3 separate regions of the Homo sapiens genome follow, and all the other regions are linked to region 1. Evidence: promoter capture Hi-C in 16 types of primary human blood cells and fetal thymus (Javierre and others, 2016). All regions are on one chromosome and are shown on one strand. Each heading gives the region's core, a stretch centred on a gene start or on the middle of the fragment in contact. The rest is flanking DNA. Distances are from core to core; before and after follow the strand shown. Region 1 holds the start of LRRC8B (leucine rich repeat containing 8 VRAC subunit B). Region 2 has its middle 93 kb from the start of LRRC8D. Region 3 holds the start of LOC107985743 (a long non-coding RNA gene).

What was found. Contacts are between HindIII fragments. The CHiCAGO score rates a contact against its expected background, and 5 or more counts as called.
Region 2: a fragment that was not itself captured here is called in contact with the fragment with the promoter of LRRC8B in region 1 in 2 of 17 cell types (activated CD4 T cells and total CD4 T cells); the score reaches 6.9 in activated CD4 T cells.
Region 3: a fragment that was not itself captured here is called in contact with the fragment with the promoter of LRRC8B in region 1 in 1 of 17 cell types (non-activated CD4 T cells); the score reaches 5.8 in non-activated CD4 T cells.

What each region holds. Positions count from the first base shown.
Region 1 is chr1:89,522,317-89,526,544 of GRCh38, forward strand. It overlaps LRRC8B (leucine rich repeat containing 8 VRAC subunit B), which reads left to right and starts at 2,513. Exons shown (of 6, transcript NM_001369817.2): 1 at 2,513-2,706. RefSeq lists a silencer at 2,377-2,836 and enhancers at 3,538-4,039, 4,040-4,228. The HindIII fragment of the contact is 21,216 bases long and covers 1-4,228 here.
Region 2 is chr1:89,726,361-89,730,272 of GRCh38, forward strand. No RefSeq gene overlaps it. Among named protein-coding and RNA genes, the nearest start is that of LRRC8D, 93 kb to the right of the region's middle. The HindIII fragment of the contact is 3,210 bases long and covers 1-2,914 here.
Region 3 is chr1:89,741,790-89,746,290 of GRCh38, forward strand. LOC107985743 (a long non-coding RNA gene) reads left to right here and starts at 2,024. Exons shown (of 3, transcript XR_002958333.2): 1 at 2,024-2,207; 2 at 3,209-4,023. The HindIII fragment of the contact is 1,624 bases long and covers 2,288-3,911 here.

The DNA.
Region 1 (4,228 bases), core at 1,263-3,762:
TCACTCATAGGTGGGACTTGAACAATGAGAACACACAGACACAGGAAAGGGAACATCGCACACCACGGCCTGTTGTGGGGTGGGGGGAGGGGGAAGAGATAGCATTTGGAGATATATCTAATGTTAAATGACGAGTTACTGGGTGCAGCACACCAACATGGCACATGTATACATAAATAACTAACCTGCACGTTGTGCACATGTACCCTAAAACTTAAAGTATAATAAAATAAAAAATAAAAAAATTTTAAAAACCTGCCTTCTGTTGTTACCAGGTAGCTGCAACAATAGAAGGCCACATATCTCCCCAGATAGCCTCCCTCACAAATTGCTTACAGTGAAATGCCTTGTGGGTCCCTAAATCTTTCAGAATGCATATCCCTCCTATAAATGAGCCCTAAAACACAGTTCTGTTGAATCTCACTCTGACAATAACAGCTCATCTTCATATGTATGGTATAAGGACAAGACTTGGAAATCATCCCTCTGCCCACCCCAAGACAAATTCATAATTGACTTTCCCCCTATTTTCACATTTATCTTATGTAAAATGTAGATTTACTGAGCATGAGAGGAACACATAATCAGTATTCCTCTACCCACTCTTCACACGCAAAATGTGAATTCACTGGGCACTAATCAAAGCCTCACAAGAATGTAACTTCTTCCCTCATTGCCTACCTTCCCATTTCCCTTTTTTTTCTTTCTTTTCTCCTTCCCCTCCTGCTGGCTCTTTCCCCTTTAAATACTGAAGTCCTCAAAAACTCTCTTTGCAAAAGGCACAGATCACAGATGTTCCTGTATTTGTGCTTTCTCCTGGGGAATGTCCTTAACCTTGGCAAAATAAACCTCTAAAACGATTGAGACCTGCCTGTCATTTTTTTGGTGCTTAAAATCCATGATGGAATTTTTAATCACTATTTTAGACTTGGGTAAATCTGGCTGTGAAAGTAGTGACAGAGTCTTTTAGAATTTTCTTCTACCAAAAATAATTAATCAGAAAGTCCCTGAGAGAATTTCAGATACTCCTGTAAGGATCAAACCTAAATTTAAATTAGACTTGTAGATCTGTGCATACCCAGTGTCTCACACATATAAACTCAATAAAAATTTATCGAATGACCAAGTGAAGAAATGTTCTTTCAGCTTTTCCTTCAAGACTCAGAAAAAAGATATCTGCAGTTCCAGAATGGACTGAGTGAACAAGAAAAGAACAGATCAGTGACACAAAGACAGCCTTCTTTTTCCCTTTCAGGGTGACTCAAATTGTAGTCCTCATCTGAACAGTCTGAGACACAACTCTTGTCTCATATTAACTCGATAGGGCATTTGCTATACTCCCATTTACACAAACTGCTCAGATGCCCCAAATGCTGAGTCTGTTCGTCTTCATTTTATTCCTTTGGGAGATGCCGGTACAAACTTGTTTTTTCTTTCTTTTTTTAAATGGAGATGTGACCACCATAGCAACTAAAAGACATAAATCTTGCCTAATTGAATCAGTGTGCTCAAGATAATAGCCAGGGCAGAGACTGAGTTAAAACTGGGGTAAGGGTGAGAGTGGGGAAATGGATGAGGATGATAAAAATATTTATGTCCCTAGAATTTGTGGGTTTGGATTAATTCTGTTTCGTAAGGAATATTGTTGGCCTTCAAATGCAGTGCCACTTGGGAGAGAAGCAAGCGGGCAGTAGTTGAGGTGTCTCTGCAGTTGAATCGCAGTGAAAGGCAGGTTATGAGTATAGGGACCGCCCCTCGGCCATGTGGTCCCCTCCCTATCCTGAGGATAACGACATTTGAGAGAAGCCAATGGTATTGGAAGGCCAGAATCGAACTTAAGCCGCTTAGTTGGTACAACTGTAAACCCTCCCTCACAGAGGCTGGGCCCTGCAATCTTTCTAAGCAGGGTAAAGAAAAGTAAGGGGACTTCCTTTTCGAAGAGGAGGTTCCCGCGTGCTGCACCCGACCTTTCCCTCAGGGCCCAACACGCGTTATATAAATGCCAAGTTACTCAGGGACGCACACGTGAGAAGGCTGGGGCCCGACACACGCGGTGTAGTGCCGAAGTCACCGGTGTGGCGCGCCTGGGGGACACGCCGAAGCCCATTTCCCTCCCGCTTCTGGAAAGCAGTCCCCGCTCTTTCCAGCTGCTCCGCGGGGCGTATGGCTGTGCGCTACCTCCTGCGGACCCCAGGCTGGGCGAGGGGGCAGCGATGGCCACATGGCGCGCTCGGGGAGATGGCAGCTGCGCTTTGTTTCCAGCAGTGATAGGTGAGTCACTGGCTCCCGCAGCCCCAGAGCTGGGCAAACACTCAGGCCCAGGCAGCTGAAAAATTCACAGCAGGAGCAGCTACCGAAGCGACTGCAGCCTCTTCCTCCTCTTCCTCCTCCTCCTCCTCCTCCGCCACTGCTACCGCCACCACCGTGGTAGCCGCCTCCGCGCCCTGCCTCCGCCCCGTCCCCTCCTCCTCCACCCGCGAACTTAGTCAGCGGTTCGCGCCGCCGAGCGCCCATTGGCCAGCGGAACGCGTCGCGTCACAATGGAGCCGGTCGGAGGCGGCGAGCCGGACAGCGCCGGGGCTTCCCGCTGAGCCCGCAGCCTCCGGCAGCCGGGAAAGTGCGGGCGCGGGGCCGCAGCCTGCCCGCCCGGAGCGGCCCAGGAGCACGCCGCGGGGAGCGCGGGCGTCCGGGGCTGGAGTCGCGCAGGTAGGTCGGAGCGTGACACCCCGGTTCCAGGAGGGCGAGCCGCGCCGACCGAGGTGGTGGAGGAGGAGGACCGGATACGGGGACGCAGCAGGTGGGGCTGGCCGAACAGGTGCGGTTACCTGTTCACGCCTCACCTGCGAGCCAGGCTGCGGGCCGGTAGCGCGGCTGCAGAGACGAGTGGCCGCTTCGTTGTGCTCCCTGCCTTCGGGAGAGACGGAGTCCCACGCTGAGAGGACCTCTCCTGTGTGCTGGGGTCATTTGGAGCAAGAGGTGTGGGCGGTCGCGCCGAGACGGTCACCTCTCTTTCCCCCGGGAGTCTCGGCGTTGCACCTGAGCGTGAGTCCTCGGGGCGGGGCGGGAAAGGGGTTCCGCTTTCCCAGGCTGGCGTCTCGCTCCAGATGAGCGCAACTCCCCTGAGGGTGCCCCCATTTGGTCGCTCTGTTTTGCCCCCTGCGCTGGCGCTGTTGGGAACTATTTTATGCTCTTGGGAACTATTTTATGCTGTTGGATACGCGTTGGTTGCCTATAATTTGGTGGTGGTGTTGGGCGTTGATTTGTTTGAGAAAGAAAGGGCAAGCGTTACCAATTTAAGAAGAAGACTCAAGAGTTTCCCCTGAGCTTAGTTGAGCAGGTGCTGAGAGGTCAGAAGGGAGGAGGCTCAGTATTGGCTCATTAATCTGTGTGCTCAACTGACTTCCTAAAGTCCATAGATTGCCTTTAGTTAGATGACATTTGTGGAAAACTTTTTTTTTCTTTGTGGTCAAAAAGACACCCCTCTAAAAGAACAAAACCGACATGTGAACTTCCTTGAATAAATTCACTTCGCCTAAAGACTTCAAACAAACAAACAAAAAAACACTCCACTGGTAAAAGATAACAGTATGAACATTTTAAATTGTAGATATATAGCCAAATTAAAACAGGCAATTTGTTCAGCGTATATTAAGAAGACATTACGTAGCATGATTTTTATTAAAAGACAACCTATTTGCAAATGATATAGTAGTCTTTGCAGAACACCCCAGAAATCTTAAAACAGATTTATCTTTATCAGATGGTTCTGTCCCCTAAACCTAGGTGTAGGAGTGAGGATGGAAAAGAAGTCAAACTGCAGTGTAATTTTTTAAACAATTCCAGTACCCTCTATGTGTACAGGCTACACCTCCTGAGAACCCCAAATGCTCTTTGTTTTGTTTCTTTGTTTTGTTTTGAGACGGAGTCTCACTCTGTCGCCCAGGCTGGAGTGCAGTAGTGCGATCTCGGCTCACTGCAACCTCCACCTCCTGGGTTCAAGTGATTCTCCTGCCTCAGCCTCCCGAGTAGCGGGGACTACAGGGGCCCGCCACCACGCCCAGCTAATTTTTATATTTTTAGTGGTGGCGGGGTTTCACCATGTTGGCCAGGCTGGTCTGAAACTCCTGACCTCAAGTGACCCACCCACCTCGGCCTCCCAAAGTGCTGGGATTACAGGTGTGACCCCAAATGCTCTCTGAATTGTGGGTGCCGAGGTGACTTTCTTTTT
Region 2 (3,912 bases), core at 60-2,559, 200 kb after region 1:
CTTCTCCACCATTAGACTAGTGTTCCCAGCTGTAACTCTGACCTTATTGCTCCTCTGCTCAAAAACCTTCCCAGTGTCTTCTTGATATTGTCTGTGGGCCTTACCCTGACTTTCGAGGTGGACCACAAGATAGGCTTGACCTGCATTTCCAGCACAAGTCCTGGAGTCCAAAAGGAGTTCCAATTCTTACTATCCATTTACCTGATGCATGACTTTGAGCAAGTTTATTTAAACTCTCCAGCCTCTGTTTATATTGAAGATATCCAAGTATTGACCCTTCCCAGAAAGTAGTAAAATGTCTTGATGCTGGTCCCACCCTCAGCCAAGTGCCTAATTAGCTATATCATGGAGCAGTTAGGTGGGCTGGGAGAAGAACTGAGTGGAGTTGGGGAAGACGGTTTGTTCCCTTTTCTCTGAAGTTCAGATGTTGACAGGTAGCTGGCATTATAGGCACTAAGGGCTACAGCCAAAACTTTGGCTGCATCAGAGAATCTGAGCCTGGGAGGCCCTGATGTAATGCATGGCCATTACACATTTGGTCCAGAGTTTACATCCCATCTCTGCCGCTTTCTGCATGTGTGTTTTGGAGCAAATCAGTTAGCTCCTTGAGCTACATCCTCCTCATCTGTAAAATGGAAACCCACTTTAAAAGTTCCTGCGAGGATCAGTGGCCTGAGGTATGTGATGTGCCTAGCTCAATGCTTGTACTCAGAAAACTTGCTAGTCTCATGATGACTATAGACTGAACTCTGGCTCTGGATAATATAAAAATTATCTACAATACTGCACATTTTCCTAAAGTCAACATTTTTTAACACCCAGAATGTGCTAGACATTGTTGTAAGGGCAGCAAGTTTGTATCTTTGTCCTTAAGGAGCTAGAGCATCATGGAAGAGTCACAGCTAAACAGCTACCACTGGGCAGCAGGATAAGTGATGCAGTGAGTGTGTAAGTGAAGTCCTCTGGCAACACAACTGCTTTTTCAACCAACCAGCATTTTCTGGGCACCTTCCAGGTAGCACATACTGTTCTAGATACTTAAGGACCAAAAATCAATACTGTGATCCTTGTTCTCAAAAAGTCCATAATCTAATAGGAAAAGGCCTCCATGCATTCAGATAGCTACAATGTGTTGTAAGAGCTAACCCAGAAGTCTGTTCACACTAGGAGCAGCGGGGAAAGTGGGCCAGAGTCACCTGGCCATGGGAAAGATTTCAGGAGATGAACCTGAACTGAGTCTTGATGCAGGTGATCCCCAGAAGAGAAATGAGAGGACGTCAGGGAAAGAGCTTTTAGGGTGGGGACAGAGGCCTGAGAGATCACGTGATGTCATTTGGAGGGCTTGGTGCCAGGGAAGGGTCACGGCCATTGGAATGGATGAGAGGTAAAGATGGAAAGATGTGAGGATCAGCTTGAGGGTGCCCTGTGTATTCCACCCATGCCAGAGACCTCTTTATTTTATCCTCCAGCAGTGGGAAACTGGGGAAGGTGTTTAAGCCCATCCTCAGTTAAATTCAAAGGCAGGATAATCTTACAGTCTGTCTGGAGCCTCCTCCCTGTGTTCAAATTCTTGTAAAAAGAAAGAAACTACCATCTCGTTTTTTAGAAATCCAAAGGCTACAGAGAGAAGCCAAGAGTCGGCAGATTAACAATGCCCCAATCAAATTTCATGGTGCATGAGACTCATAAACATTAATGTGTTACTTCAGCTTGTTCTTGGCATCACTAGACCTCAGGAAAACTACCCAGCAGGCCCATTGTCCTTTGTCCCTGCCTCTTCCTCCTTATTTCACACCCCGGTTTCTTCCTTCGCTTTGCTGCTGTTTTCCAGCCGATTAACGGGAATTTGCCCTGTTTCATGTCTACAAAGTCAAAAGGAAACCACCCAGTTTACCTGAACTCTGAGCGCCATTCTCAGTGCAAAGCTCTCTTCCTCCCTCTGCCCCTTATCGTACCGGTGTGCTCATCTGTGAGGTGCCATTCTCAGGGTATATGAGGATGTGCAAAAGTTTGTATCTGCTTATCCTCCTTCAAGCCTGCTCCCCAGGTAAGTCCAATCTGCCTGCTTGGAGCCCTGTGGGCTGGATAACTCAGGGCGAGAGACACAGTGGAAGACGTAGCTTGGTTAGCCAAGTGTCCCCATTAGGACTCTTGCTCTTTTTCTGTCTCCAGAGGAAAGGTGGAGCTTTCCTGCCCACAGAACTTAGTTTCATTTTCCCATTCTTTCTAATGCTGTGTTCCTGCCCTACCCTCCTGGGTAGCACGGGTCTTAGTGTTTCTTCTGGACAGCACTCTGCAGAATGCCTTGGTTCTCCCAACCAAGGGCTTTGATGCTAATGGGAAGACCACAGGTTGAAACGCTAGAGAGCACACTTCTCCTCTGATGGTGCCATTGCTTAATTATTTTGCAACCCCTGCCTCAGCCTCTGGCAGGACCCTCTCTGCCATAGCAGGGAGCCACAGCATCTCTGGCACCCACGCTTCCCTGACCACACCCTGGGAGACTCTGACTCTTCCCACCACTTTCCGTTACAGAGGAAGCAGCGCAGTTTGGAATATGAGACTGGCCCCTACAGTGGCTCTTCAGAGGGACCAGGTGACACAACCTGAAAGTGAGAGGCAGTTTATGCCCGTAGGGTGAAATTTGACCAAATAGAGAAAAAAAAAAAAGACCCTGAGGGGACTGCCAATAAATTCTACGCCCTCCCTTCCTCCTGTGGGTGATTCCTAGGCTGAGTGGTTTGGTTTGTCCTGCCAGGGATGTCTCATACCACCAAGCAACAGGCTGTTTTGTCATGAAGCTGTGACCAACTCATTAATGAATATTCACTTTCCTTCCTCCCAGCCTGGATTTTCCTTTTCTCTTATTTTTGCAACCCTGCCGTGGCGCCTCCCAAAAAAGCATTAGCAGGTAAGCTTTTTTGGAGAATCCACTAACCCTTGCCCACTGAACTCAGAATAACACTCTGAACCCATTAATATGGCTGGTTTCTTCCTGGGTTGGTCTAAGCAGGCTTATAATCACTTTTCCCTGACACCCGCTAAGGCCCCAAAGGAGGTCATTCCTTGTTTCTCCCTTGGAAGGGAATAGAGTCAGATTGGCAGATCCCTGGAAAACACTTAGGCAGAGGGAGAACCATCACATCACCAACATGATGGGTGGGAGAAATGAAAACAATCTAAGCTTCCAAAAATGAGAATGATACATTTTTACAATAAAGCACTAGGTAGACATTTAAAATAATGTTACAAATACATTTATTGACGTGTAATTCATTATGTGTTAATTGAAAAAAGTAAATTTTTAAAATTAAGCACAGTGTGATCTCACTTATGCAAGAAAGAATATATATATATTTAAAAATTGGGGCCAGGAACTGTGGCTCACACCTGTAATCCCAGTACTTTGGGAGGCTGAGGCAGGCGGGTCACCTGTGGTGAAGAGATTGAGACCATCCTGGCCAACATGATGAAACCCCATCTCTACTAAAAATACAAAAAGTAGCTGGGCGTGGTGGTGCACACCTGTTCTCTCAGCTACTCAGGAGGCTGAGGCAGGAGAATCACTTGAACCCGGGAGGCAGAGATTGCAGTGGGCCAAGATCACACCACTGCACTCCAGCCTGGGCAACAGAGTGAGACTCTGTCTCAAAAAAAAAAAAAAAAAAAAAAAATGGAAGAAGATATACATCCAAATGCAAACAGAGATTGTCATTCAGTGGTGGGAGTATAAGTGCACTCTCTTTTATTCTTTATATATATCAGTATTTTAGAATTTTTCCTCTAAGAATTATATATTAATTGTGATTTTTTTATTTAAGAGAGAAAAAAGTATCTAGGCTTGGCACTCACAGATGCACCTTCTGCCAGCAATATGCTGTAACATTAGAAGGGAAATTAGATGAAGACCCA
Region 3 (4,501 bases), core at 1,850-4,349, 220 kb after region 1:
GTCATCAAGGCTTGGTCTTTCAGGTGACCAGCCCTCATCCTGAAGCTGGCTAGGGACCCCAGGTACTAGTCATCTCATTAGCATAAAAAAGACAGTCATCACTCTGGAGATTCCAAGGTTCTTAAAAGCTCTTGTGCCAGGGAACAGAGAATAAGACCAAATATAACAAATGGTGCTCCTCTTACTCCTATCATTCAGGAAATGATGAGGGTTTTAAGACCCATGTGTCAGGAACTGGGGTAAAAGACCAAATATATATTTTTTATTATGTCAGACAGCTATAGGCAGATGATTCAAGGGGCACAGTTATACCTCTAATGCCTTTGTGCAAATTATAAAAAGGTGGCTCCTTCAGGCCCATGGATTGGGAAAAAAGCTTTTATTCCTCTGGGCTGAAACATCTCTGAGACTGGGGAGAAAGGCAGGGCTATAATTCAGCCCACTGTCTTCCCTCCCCCTCGGCTGGACACTTTAGTGCAGTACAGAGACGGCACAGCTGTACCTGGGGCTATGGGAGAAAGTGGTACTGGGGGCCAGGGATATGTGGAAGACCAAGTGCCTCACCCTTACTATGCTCACCCCAAGGATGAGACTCTTTTTCTTTCCAACTGCAGTTTAATTGTTGTAGGGTCTCCTCAGGATGATGCTCACCTCTTGATCCTTCTCCACCGTGCCTTGCCCTGTTCCAGGCCTGTGGTATCAATACTTAAACTGAGCTGACCTAGGAAGAATGCCTTTCTTGGGTGTAAAGATTGAGCAAGCAATGGACAGAGCCATTTGAGGAGGGGCAATGTGTTGTCATGGAAAGGCCACACATCCTGGAATCAACTGACCTGGTATGGTGGCTTGATGGGTGTCAACTTGATGAGGCTGAACTGCATTTCCCAGAATTCCCTTTGCTGCGTGTTTCCCATTAGTGTGGACCACAGGAGATATTGTGTGAAAGTTGGAGGGAAGTAGTGAAGCCACAACCATTAAGTAGCTCACACATGTCTATGTTGGCATGAATCTGCTGGCTCATTTGCTGGGTCCTCCAAACACATGGATGTTTTTGCCTTCCCAGAGCTCTCCACTGTGAGAGCACTTGCTGTTGTGCACCGGCCCCACCTCCTAATACTCCACCTTGGGATTAGGATTTCAATACATGAATTTGGGAGAGACATAAACATTCAGTCCATCGCAAATCTCTTGCACTCTTAGCAGACAGCTAAATAAACCAACCCTGTCCCTGTCCATTGATCTTCTTCTCCCAGTTAAAATACCAGCATTTTCTCAGGATATTTGAAAGCTAGTGCTTTTACTCAAAGAAAGAGTATGGGTAGAACCTGTAGGCACCTTACTAGGCTAGTTGGGGAGGTATTTTGGGGTGGTTCTCTCCCAATCCTACCATGAGCAGCATCATATACTTTATTTGGATTGATAATAAAGGTGATTATTTGTGACCTTATTAACAGGGAATATAAATGCCTCAGAGAAGGCTTCCACTGTTTAAAACTATTTTCCAATTTTATGAGTTTTCTGGAATATGAGGTTATTCAGAGAAGGAGCCCTCTTGCAACTCCCTGGCATCTTACCCTCAGTTCCATCTGCATTTTCCACTCTCAACATCCACGCATAAACAGCCAGCATCCAGCCACTCTCTCCCCTTTTATCCTGCTGTGTTGTCACCCTGTCCTCCCTCTGTCTTGTCAAAAATGAGCAAAGGCATATTAGCCACCCTGGGACGGCTTGACACGGAAAAGGTGTCCTTTCAAAATCTCAGAATGTCACGATGAACTAGTTGAGAAAACAGTATGATGGACTGTACTGGCTTCTCCAAAGTCAGCCCCTGTGGAAAAATATTGAACATTTGACTCATTCACTGACATTTGGGACAGTTAAATGGGAGAGGAAAAAAAAGAAAGGAATGAATAAATTGCTTCTTTTTCCTCCATAGGTATCTGATTCAGGCGCCAAAGCTTATGAATCTTGGAATATAGTCAGCTACAATCATGGGTTATTCTCCAAATGAAGAGTCCAAACACTGGCAAAATAAAAAGCACATTTGGTCCATCACATTCCTAACTATAATGGATGCTGAGAAATGGATGCACTGTAACAACCCGCAAGTTTCCTGGTACTGCTGCTGTCATTGCAAAACCATTGCAAAGTATCCATCTCTTGCCTCTGCCAGAAAAAGCCAGCCGTTAACAGAAACTAAACCCAAGGTCACTTACTTTCACATAAAGAGAATATTTTGGCAGCTGCCAAAATTCATTTTTCTAATGTGCACTTACCCAATAACTTAAGCTTGGCATCCTGGGCGGAATCCAACTTGGGTAATTCCATTTTCACAACCGAATTCCCCCAAGGAGTTTGAGCTGAACATCACATTATTCTTCACTTCTCCAGCTATCCTCTCAGTAATCAAACGAGTGCTTTTCATCCCTGAAGCGTCATGGAAATATAGGGGTGGGGGTTCAAAAAAGGGTTTCTTCTTAAGAATATAGTGATGAGAGGTTCCGTTATACGAACTTAGTAAAGTCCTTTGGAAGTCAAGACTGGTTTCATTTTTTTAATTATTATTTATTTATTTATTTTTTGAGATACAGTCTCACTCTGTCACCCAGGCTAGAGTTCAGCGGCGCAATCTTGGCTCACTGCAACCTCTGCTTCCTGGGTTAAAGTGATTCTCCTGCCTCAGCCTCCTGAGTAGCTGAGATTACAGGTGTGTGCCACCACACCTGGCTAATTTTTTGTATTTTAGTAGAGATGGGGTTTCACCACGATGGCCAGGCTGGTCTCAAACTCCTGGCCTCAAGTGATCCACCTGCCTCAGCCTTCCAAAATGCTGGGATTACAGGCATGAGTCACTGCGCCCAGCCTGGTTTCATTTATTTAACCAACAGGTATTGAGGTTTGTGCCAAGTGCTGGTCTCAATATTGCAGGTGCAGCAGGACATAAGAAAAGGTTTCTGCCCTCAAGAAGTAAATATTAGAATAAGTATATGAAATAGGGCTGGAGAGAGACACAGGAATCAGACCATTAAGGCCATGATATGGAGTTTGGATATTATTATAAGTACAGTTGGAGAGTATTAGTGGAGTGATGATCAGATTCAGGGTTTTTAATAAGATCACTGTGAAGAGGAAGAGCCATTGTACAGGATACCTGTGGAACCAGGGTCTTAACCTTCTGTTGTTTTCCATTGGAATCTAACCATTCTAGGAGTCAACACAGCTATGGCCAGATTTTCCTCCTTGCCATTCTTCAAACAGCCTTGGATTCTCGGTAACTCAAGAACCAAAGAGTCCAAAGCCATGGTTTGACCACATGGATCATCAGCACCGCTCCACGACTGATGCTGCTTTCCCTTCTTCTCTAGCCAGCTGTACTTCGTGAGCTTCCTTTGGTCATTCAGGACACCAGAAACAAATAAACTAAGAAGCATTAGTTCATCTCCATGAGCTGCTCCAAGAGCTTTAAAAGTAGGTCAGTTGCAAAGTCCAGGAGCAGAAGTATGTGTACATATATGAGACTTATTAAATGGTGGCATTCTGGGAAGAGCATCACCACTGATAAAGAATCATTGAAACTTTCTATTTCTGTGAACAGTGGTAAATATAAATCTTAAAATCATAGAATCTGAGAGTGGTAGAGGACTTCAGTGATCATCAAGTCCAACCTCCCACCCAAGGTAGGATTATTCTATGTGGCCCTGACAGGGAGTCTAATGTCCTATATCCCTCCCATATCACATAAAAACATCAGAGGAGTCAGTTTAAATGCACACTGTTCTGTTGGCTAGGGAAGGCCATCGACTGTGACATCTATTGCCCAAAGTTGCAGTCTGAAGGGCCAAATAGCAGATAGAAAAAGTTATGTCTTAAAGAGGGGTAAAGGTCACAACCTAGAAGGAGAACACCAAATAAGCTTGTCAATCTCAGCACCAAGTTGGAAGAAGGTTATCAAGTATACAGAGCCAGAAAAAGAAGATACCCAAGATGCTGATGGGTGACAAATATGGACTAAGTGGATTGGAGGTGAGCACATTTGGAGGGATTTCTGCAGGTTCTCATGATAAATTGTTTATGTAGTTCTCACACAGATTTATATAATTGTGCCAGGTACTTTTGGAGGATCTAGAAGGGAACTTCTGTCTTGCTTCTGCTAAATGATCCCTGTCTCACACGGTAGCCCATTCCATCATTAGGAAGTGCCGACAATCAGAATATTCTCCACACCCTCTTCCCTCTGGCCATAGATCTGTTCTTGAGTGACACGCAGAGCAAATCTAAATTTCTTTTTCTCATGATGACCTTTCAAATAATTAAAGCAGATCCTATGTTCCCGTTCAATATTTCCTGCTCTAGGCTACATCTCCCCTGATTCCTTCAACTGTTCTCAGATGATGTAATTTTGTAGCTTCCAAACTTTCAAGTTGGAAAGGGCCTCAGAAATTCAAGTACAGATCTCCCTCTTTGCCCGGGAGGAAGATAAGGTTTAGAGAGAAGAAATGCA